2 separate regions of the Homo sapiens genome follow, and region 1 is linked to region 2. Evidence: promoter capture Hi-C in human tissues and cell types (Jung and others, 2019). All regions are on one chromosome and are shown on one strand. The core of a region is centred on a gene start or on the middle of the fragment in contact, and the rest is flanking DNA. Distances in the headings are between cores, read along the strand shown. Region 1 holds the start of FES (FES proto-oncogene, tyrosine kinase). Region 2 has its middle 40 kb from the start of NGRN.

Region 1 (4,019 bases), core at 972-3,471, 580 kb after region 2:
AGGAGATATCTGAGGGAGGAGGCCACCTCTCCAAGGGCTTCTGCACCCTCCACCCTGTCCCCCAGCTCTGGTGAGTCTTGGCGGCAGCAGCCATCATAGGAAGGGACCAAGGCAAGGCAGGTGCCTCCAGGTGTGCACGTGGCATGTGGCCTGTGGCCTGTGTCCCATGACCCACCCCTGTGCTCCGTGCCTCCACCACCACTGGCCACCAGGCTGGCGCAGCCAAGGCCGAAGCTCTGGCTGAACCCTGTGCTGGTGTCCTGACCACCCTCCCCTCTCTTGCACCCGCCTCTCCCGTCAGGGCCCAAGTCCCTGTTTTCTGAGCCCGGGCTGCCTGGGCTGTTGGCACTCACAGACCTGGAGCCCCTGGGTGGGTGGTGGGGAGGGGCGCTGGCCCAGCCGGCCTCTCTGGCCTCCCACCCGATGCTGCTTTCCCCTGTGGGGATCTCAGGGGCTGTTTGAGGATATATTTTCACTTTGTGATTATTTCACTTTAGATGCTGATGATTTGTTTTTGTATTTTTAATGGGGGTAGCAGCTGGACTACCCACGTTCTCACACCCACCGTCCGCCCTGCTCCTCCCTGGCTGCCCTGGCCCTGAGGTGTGGGGGCTGCAGCATGTTGCTGAGGAGTGAGGAATAGTTGAGCCCCAAGTCCTGAAGAGGCGGGCCAGCCAGGCGGGCTCAAGGAAAGGGGGTCCCAGTGGGAGGGGCAGGCTGACATCTGTGTTTCAAGTGGGGCTCGCCATGCCGGGGGTTCATAGGTCACTGGCTCTCCAAGTGCCAGAGGTGGGCAGGTGGTGGCACTGAGCCCCCCCAACACTGTGCCCTGGTGGAGAAAGCACTGACCTGTCATGCCCCCCTCAAACCTCCTCTTCTGACGTGCCTTTTGCACCCCTCCCATTAGGACAATCAGTCCCCTCCCATCTGGGAGTCCCCTTTTCTTTTCTACCCTAGCCATTCCTGGTACCCAGCCATCTGCCCAGGGGTGCCCCCTCCTCTCCCATCCCCCTGCCCTCGTGGCCAGCCCGGCTGGTTTTGTAAGATGCTGGGTTGGTGCACAGTGATTTTTTTCTTGTAATTTAAACAGGCCCAGCATTGCTGGTTCTATTTAATGGACATGAGATAATGTTAGAGGTTTTAAAGTGATTAAACGTGCAGACTATGCAAACCAGGCCCAGTCTCCAGTGTGGTACCGTTGCTCCTGCATCGCAGCTGAGGATAGGGGGCCAGTTAGGCCTACACAGTGGCCTGCCTGCCTGGATGTGGGCCCAAGTCAGAAGGCCAAAGTCCTCCAAGGGGCGGGAGGATGCGCCAGCCCCTAGTGGAGGAGCTGGTGCCCCTGGGGTGGGGCTGGTGACCCCTGGTCCTCAGGAGCTGAGCACTAAACTCCCAAAGTCCTGGTTTCCAGCAGTGTGAAGAACTGGGCCTATTGTGTCTTCCTGGGCTGAAGTGATCTGGTCGCCACAGGCTATAGGGCTGAGGCCTAAGGTGGAGGGAGGCCTGACTGAATCAAGATGACTTCTTGTGGGGAGCCTGAGTCCCAAATGGAAAACTCCACGCCTGTCCGCTCCCCAACCCCTGCCCCTTGATTTCCCCAGGTCTCCCTTGGGACAGGAAGCCCCTGCCTGGGGGTAGGAGGATGGGGACAAAACCACTAGGATCTGTATCCGAGAAGCAGTCTCTGTTCGGGATATTTACTTGGAAATTTTATTCAAATGGAAGCTGGCGCCTGAGCCTCTCCTTAGGGAATTCCGTGAGGTGGGGAGGGCTGGGACCAGGGTTCCCTCTTTCTCTTCTGCGGTGGCCCTGGCCTGGTGCTAGGACTGCGCGCCTCCCCTCAGTACCCGCGGACACCCTGGGCTTCCCTGGGCCCAGCATCTGCCTGGGGCCTCGCCCTGGGCTCCCCCTCCTGACCCCCACCTTGCGCCCCTTCCCGGTGTTCCCGGGGCGCTGCCGGGCCCTGGGGCCTGCGGGGCGCGGGCGGCTCTTGGCTGGGCCATTCTTTCCCGGCCCCCTCCTCCCTTCCGTTTCCGTGGCCGTGCGGCCGGCTAGAGGCTGCGGCCCAGCGCGGAGCAGGGGGGCTGGCAGGCGTCGGGGCGGTCGGGCCGGTCCCGCCCGCCCCTTCCCCTCCACAGGCCCGCCCCGGGGCCTGGGCCAACTGAAACCGCGGGAGGAGGAAGCGCGGAATCAGGAACTGGCCGGGGTCCGCACCGGGCCTGAGTCGGTCCGAGGCCGTCCCAGGAGCAGCTGCCCGTGCGGGTACCTCTAGCCCCGGGGCCTGGAGGAGCGGTGGGAGCTGGGGGCGCGGCAGGCAGGGGCAGAGCAGGCGTTCCGAGGGCCAGAGACCCACCCAGGTGGGGGTAGGGGCCGCGGAAGGGCGGGGATGGCCGCAGGGGCAGGGCTCAGGCTGTGGGCGCCTGAGGCTTCAGCTGGGGCAGGCTTGGCCTGTCGAGGACCTGGGCAAGGGTGTCCCTGTAAGGGGTGGTGGGTGGAAGGGCCTGGGGAGGGAGGCTCCAGGTTGGCTCCTGTTCCCGAACGTGCGGAGGAGACCCTGACGCTAAGGAAGCAATGAGGGCCAGTCCCCAGGCCAGGCTGCTGCTGGGTACCCATGGCTGCGTGTGAGCGAGGCAGGACCCCACCTCCTCCCCGTCTGCAGTCCATCCTGACCCTACAGTCCCCAGTCTCCTCGTCCCATGCCTCCGTCTCCAGCTGCTGCCTTGCCTCCAGGGATGGCCCCTTTTCTGTCCCCAGAACAGCACTATGGGCTTCTCTTCCGAGCTGTGCAGCCCCCAGGGCCACGGGGTCCTGCAGCAAATGCAGGAGGCCGAGCTTCGTCTACTGGAGGGCATGAGAAAGTGGATGGCCCAGCGGGTCAAGAGTGACAGGGAGTATGCAGGACTGCTTCACCACATGTCCCTGCAGGACAGTGGGGGCCAGAGCCGGGCCATCAGCCCTGACAGCCCCATCAGTCAGGTGGGTCTCTATGGGACTCTGGTGGGTGCTGGCTGTATCTGCCTTCTCCTTCCTCTCCTGGGGGCCCTCTGGGGCAGTGGCTGGAGATCTGGCAGGCCAATGCTTGGGAGCCATTGTGCCCCCCTCCCTGCCTCCCCCATCTGTGCTGTATAGTCCTGGGCTGAGATCACCAGCCAAACTGAGGGCCTGAGCCGCTTGCTGCGGCAGCACGCAGAGGATCTGAACTCAGGGCCCCTGAGCAAGCTGAGCCTGCTCATCCGGGAACGGCAGCAGCTTCGCAAGACCTACAGCGAGCAGTGGCAGCAGCTGCAGCAGGAGCTCACCAAGGTGAGCGGGCAGCACTGGGGCTTCGGTCATTTCTGTCTAAATTTTGAGCCTCGAAGGGGTTGTTTTGCACAAGAGGCCCTGGATTCACTGGGGAAGTGTAAGTCCCTGACCGCAGGCCTGGCTTGCTCTAACCTTGATGCAGCTTCCTCTCTTCCTTCCCCTACGTTGAGCTGGCTTGCAGCAAGGCCTCTCTGTGCTTTTTCTGTGCCTGGGCAAAGTGCTGGGAGTGTAAGGATGAGTGACCGGTCACGTGCCTGGGAGAAGCTCAGAATCGGTACTCGCCTCCACACTGTGCCATCTGGCTCTGGGTTCTGAGAGTCAGGGAGAGGAATGAGGGTCAGTCTGTTTGCCTTCGACCTAGGCAGCCTCCTCTCAGGGCCCCAGAGACTGGGCAGCAGCATGGCCCCCCGAAGGTCGAGGATTCGGGCCGTGAAGTCAGCCTGCCTAGGTTTGAATCCCACCCAGCTCCTCAGTCTAGAGGCTGTGTGATTTGGAACTATTTATCTGGGAGCCTAGTGCCCCCATTCAGTGTGCTGGTCACCCTCCCTGCACCACACCCCTTCCTCAAGTGCAGAGCCCAGCCTTGCCATGGACCCACAGCGGCCCCTGGTGGCCACCCTGGCCCCATTCCTCGCCCCAAAAGATCATCTGATTCAAGGGTGGGCCCATTTTTATAAAGTTTTGCTGGAACACAGCTATGCCCTTTTGTTTTCATA
Region 2 (4,005 bases), core at 851-3,350:
CCTTTGCATGCTTTTTGTCATTTTCCTATGGAACTGTTAATGTTTCTTCTTAGCATTCTAGTCTTAATATTTTTTAGCAAAGGATTTTTCTGACTGCATTGTGAGATCTGGCCTCCTGGCTGGGGCGGCAGGAGGTGGGATGGAGAAAGGGCGGGGTGTCAGAGCCAGGCCTGTTCTCTTAGTCCTTCCACAATCGCCAAGGTGTGACCTGGGCCAACTCTTGGTATCTCTGGGCTTCAGTTCCCTTCCCTGTAAATAGAAAGGTCTTAATTAAGGTCCCTTCCAGTGCTGTAAAAGGGAGTTTCAAAGCTTCTCTCACTGTTATGATTGTGATCAGCTTCGAAGGAGGTAGTGCTAGTGGGTAAACATCAAACTGTAAGCTTGCTTCCCCAGTTCCAACCTACCAGTACCACCTACACTGAGAAAATCACTTTGATGCTCTTAGTTTCCTGATCTGTAAATGGAAAATGTGTTTTACAGATTTGTTGTAAAAGTTATGTGAAATAATAAAAATCAAAGTGTATAGATTATAATATACTACAGACGGGCCGGGCATGGTGGCTCTCGGCTGTAATCCCAGCACTTTGAGGGGCTGAGGCAGACAGATCACTTGAGGTCAGGAGTTCGAGACCAGCCTGGCCAACACGGCAAAACCCCGCCTCTACTAAAAATACAAAAATTAGCCAGGCATGGTGGTTTGCCCCTGTAATCCCAGCTACTCCAGAGGCTGAGGTGGGAGAATCACTTGAACCCCGGAGACAGAGGTTGCAATGAGCCGAGATCATACCAAGGCACCCCATCCTGGGCAACAGAGCCAAACTCATCCCAAAACAAAACAAAACAAACAAACAAACAAACAAATGTATATATATACACACGCACCACAGACATACACACACACTGTGAAGTTGCATTTTTAAAGAATTTAATTTTCATAAATCTTAGTGCACAAACAAGTAAAGAAAACATTTTTTACCCTGTTGCATGTATCCTCCCTTTCAAACTAGACTCTAGCCTCCAGGGGTCCAAAGAGAATGAGATGACAGAGAGAATGTAAATAGAAACAAAAGAAGCTAAATCTTAGTGTTTGGGCTTCTAAGTATGGAGCCTCAAGTGATAATACGCAATTTTCTGAAGCACTTCTGTACATGATTTTCTCCTTGTGTGTGCTGACTTGACAGCTTAATTCACACACATAATACACACACACATACCTCACACACATAAATCTACCATATATATATATATACACAACTTACATAAGTGCTTCACACCCACTATATATCTAATTCCTTTTATAGGCATATGGCAATGAAAGCAGAAAATGTGATTCAAAAAATAGAAACCACTCTCATTTTCTTTAACTCTTTCCTTTAATTTTGGTCATTTAAAGCTTATAAATTTGACAGACTGTATTTTTAAAACAGACTATTTTTAAAACCTTTAATACTAGTCTCATACATGGTCTATTTCTATTGGTTTATAGTTTGTCAGCAAATTGTATTTTCTACCCATAGGTAAATGTAGCACTGTTCTGAGCACCAAGAAGACATAGGCAGGGAATAGACACTACCTTAGGATCAAGAGGAGACAAGACATGTAAACATGTCATTAGCTAAGTGTGTACATAAATCCAGTTCTGTCATTAAAGAGTAAATATGAGAGCAGGGAGATTTTCTGGTGGGTGGGCGATGATTGCTTTTTTCTTCCCCACGCTCTCCTGGCATTTTTCTCCCCTTCCTTGGGACTGGATTATAGAATGCAGGGGCAGGCCAGGAGCGATGGCTCACGCCTATAATCCCAGCACTTTGGGAGGCCAAGGCTGGTGGATCATGAGGTCGTGAGTTTGAGACCAGCCTGGCCAACGTCGCAAAGCCCCGTCTCTACTAAAAATACAAAAAAAATTAGCTGGGCCTGGTGTCGGGTGCCTATAATCCCAACTACTCGGTAGGCTGAGGCAGGAGAATCTCTTGAACCCAGGAGGCGGAGGCTGCAGTGAGCCGAGATCGTGCCACTGCACTTCAGCCTGGGCGACAGAGCAAGACTCCATCTCAAAAAAAATAATAAAGAATGCAGGGGCAGTTCAGCTTATACATCATGGGCATAAACAATGGCCACTAATTGAAATGGTAGTTTGAAGCTAGCCAGAAATAGCTCTTCACAAAAGAGATCAAGTCTTACTCTGTAAAAAGAGAGTAAAAGCTGAGAAAATATTTCTGAACTAAGTTCACCTTACACAAAGAACATATCCAGAGTTCTAGAATATATGGATATGCTAGGGGAAGAAATACAGATGCAGGCAATCCCCTCTCCTCAATCAGAGGGACAAAGGGTGGAATATGATCTCTGTTCTAAGGCCGTTTGCACTTTCTGTTCATCCTTACCCACTTGTGATGTGTTGTTGTGGTGGTTGTTTCTCAGCAAATGCTCTTAAGTCTGTTACGTAACCTTTCTAAGCACTTTACACATATGAACTGATTTGACTCACATAATAATCTTCTGGGATAAGAACTATTAGTATCATTCCCACTTGACAGATGCAGAAACCGAGGACCTGAGAGATTCCATAAGTCTCCCTGGCAAATTGGATTCAGCCCCAGGAAGTCTGGCTTCTTGGCCTACATTCTTGACTATAAAAGTTGCACTGTCTCTTTAGCTGAAGGGTGAACTTAGGCATTTGAACAGCCAAGGGGTTGTGGGTAGAGTGAAAAAAGAAAGGAAAGGCTTTGAAAGTTATCCTGTTGTTTGAAAACACGAAAAGAGAAGAGAAAAAGAAGGAGAGAGCCTGGAATAGCTGTGAGAAGGCAATAGAAGAAGTGGAAGAACAGGAAATGGAAGAAAAAAAGCAAAGAGAAATTGACCTTGTCCCTGCTAGGGTCCAAATCTAACGGCTTGCTCGGGCTGGAGGGGCTAGAAGTGGGTGTCTCTGCTTTCAAGCAGCGCATTTAACTTCACCGGCTTTCCCCAGGCTGTCTCTGCAGCAACCCACACGAGGGCCTCTTTTCACAGCAATTATGAAAGTGATGGTGGGAGGAAGTACAGCTCACTTATTGAGGTTAAAAAGCCACCCAAGTAAAAGCATTAACCCAGTAGTAAGATTAAATTCCTGGCCCCAAAGGGAAATTATCAGGAGGTGTCCTTTACCATGTGTGAAATGGAAACAGTTTCCTCTCTTGGGCAAAATAACCAATTGCTGTGGGAGGCGGAAATCAATGCAGTGTTTGGTGAAAACTTGGGTTTCTCTGATGAGTTCTGTGAAACGCTAACGTCTAACAGGGGTTGTTCAGTCTATCCAATAACATTTTCTTCCCGTGACCTTGGATCTTAACGTTGGCTCCGCTCATAAATGACTGTGGAATGGGAATGAGAGAGTAAGCTCTTGACAGCTACAGGGAAATGCACTTCTAAAGAACTTGGTATAAGAGGGAAAATGAGATGGTCCTCCAAGAGCTAAACAACAAGATCAATACATATTGTATGGAGCAGAGATGTGCAAAGTCATCATGTTGAACATTCTGACTTGTTGAACATGTTGAACAATCTGATTGAGGATAATAACACAGCTAAAGGAATAATAGTCAATTTAAGGTAGAGTTTGATTCCATGAAAGAAGAAAAAGGAGAGAGAAGTAAATGCATGTATTCTGTATATATATTGAGAGTCTGCTAAGCACTGTGCTAAGGGCATGAACAAATTCTACTCCTGCCTTTTTGGGGTTCCAGAGCAGGCTGACAGGGTCCATCTAAGAACAGCTCAGAAGAAAAAAATGCATCTTCGTCAAAGATATCCAGTATCCTGGCCAAGAGCAGTGCCTGCCGTTTTTGTAGACGCTGTTATTCTTTTTCCCATATTCCCATCTCAGGCTCATAGATGAGGGAACTTCTCCCCATCTGACTTGCAGACCATTTTAGGGAACACTTGGATGGACACGTACTCTCTCGCTTTCCCTCCTTTCATTCTTCTCTCCCCAGGATAAGAGTAGCTAATCTGACTCAAGACAGCATA

What was found. Contacts are between HindIII fragments. The study calls those that stand out against the background at their distance.
Region 1: a contact is called between the fragment with the promoter of FES here and a fragment that was not itself captured in region 2, in 1 of the 25 tissues and cell types used here (lymphoblastoid cells).

Annotation. Positions count from the first base shown.
Region 1 is chr15:90,882,283-90,886,301 of GRCh38, forward strand. It overlaps FES (FES proto-oncogene, tyrosine kinase), which reads left to right and starts at 2,222. Exons shown (of 19, transcript NM_002005.4): 1 at 2,222-2,262; 2 at 2,755-2,976; 3 at 3,130-3,303. The coding sequence starts at 2,764. FURIN (furin, paired basic amino acid cleaving enzyme) reads left to right here. Exons shown (of 16, transcript NM_002569.4): 16 at 1-1,175. RefSeq lists enhancers at 1,271-1,400, 2,938-3,367 and a silencer at 1,798-2,307. The HindIII fragment of the contact is 25,407 bases long and covers 1-4,019 here.
Region 2 is chr15:90,303,701-90,307,705 of GRCh38, forward strand. No RefSeq gene overlaps it. Among named protein-coding and RNA genes, the nearest start is that of NGRN, 40 kb to the left of the region's middle. RefSeq lists an enhancer at 2,845-2,894. The HindIII fragment of the contact is 4,498 bases long and covers 1-4,005 here.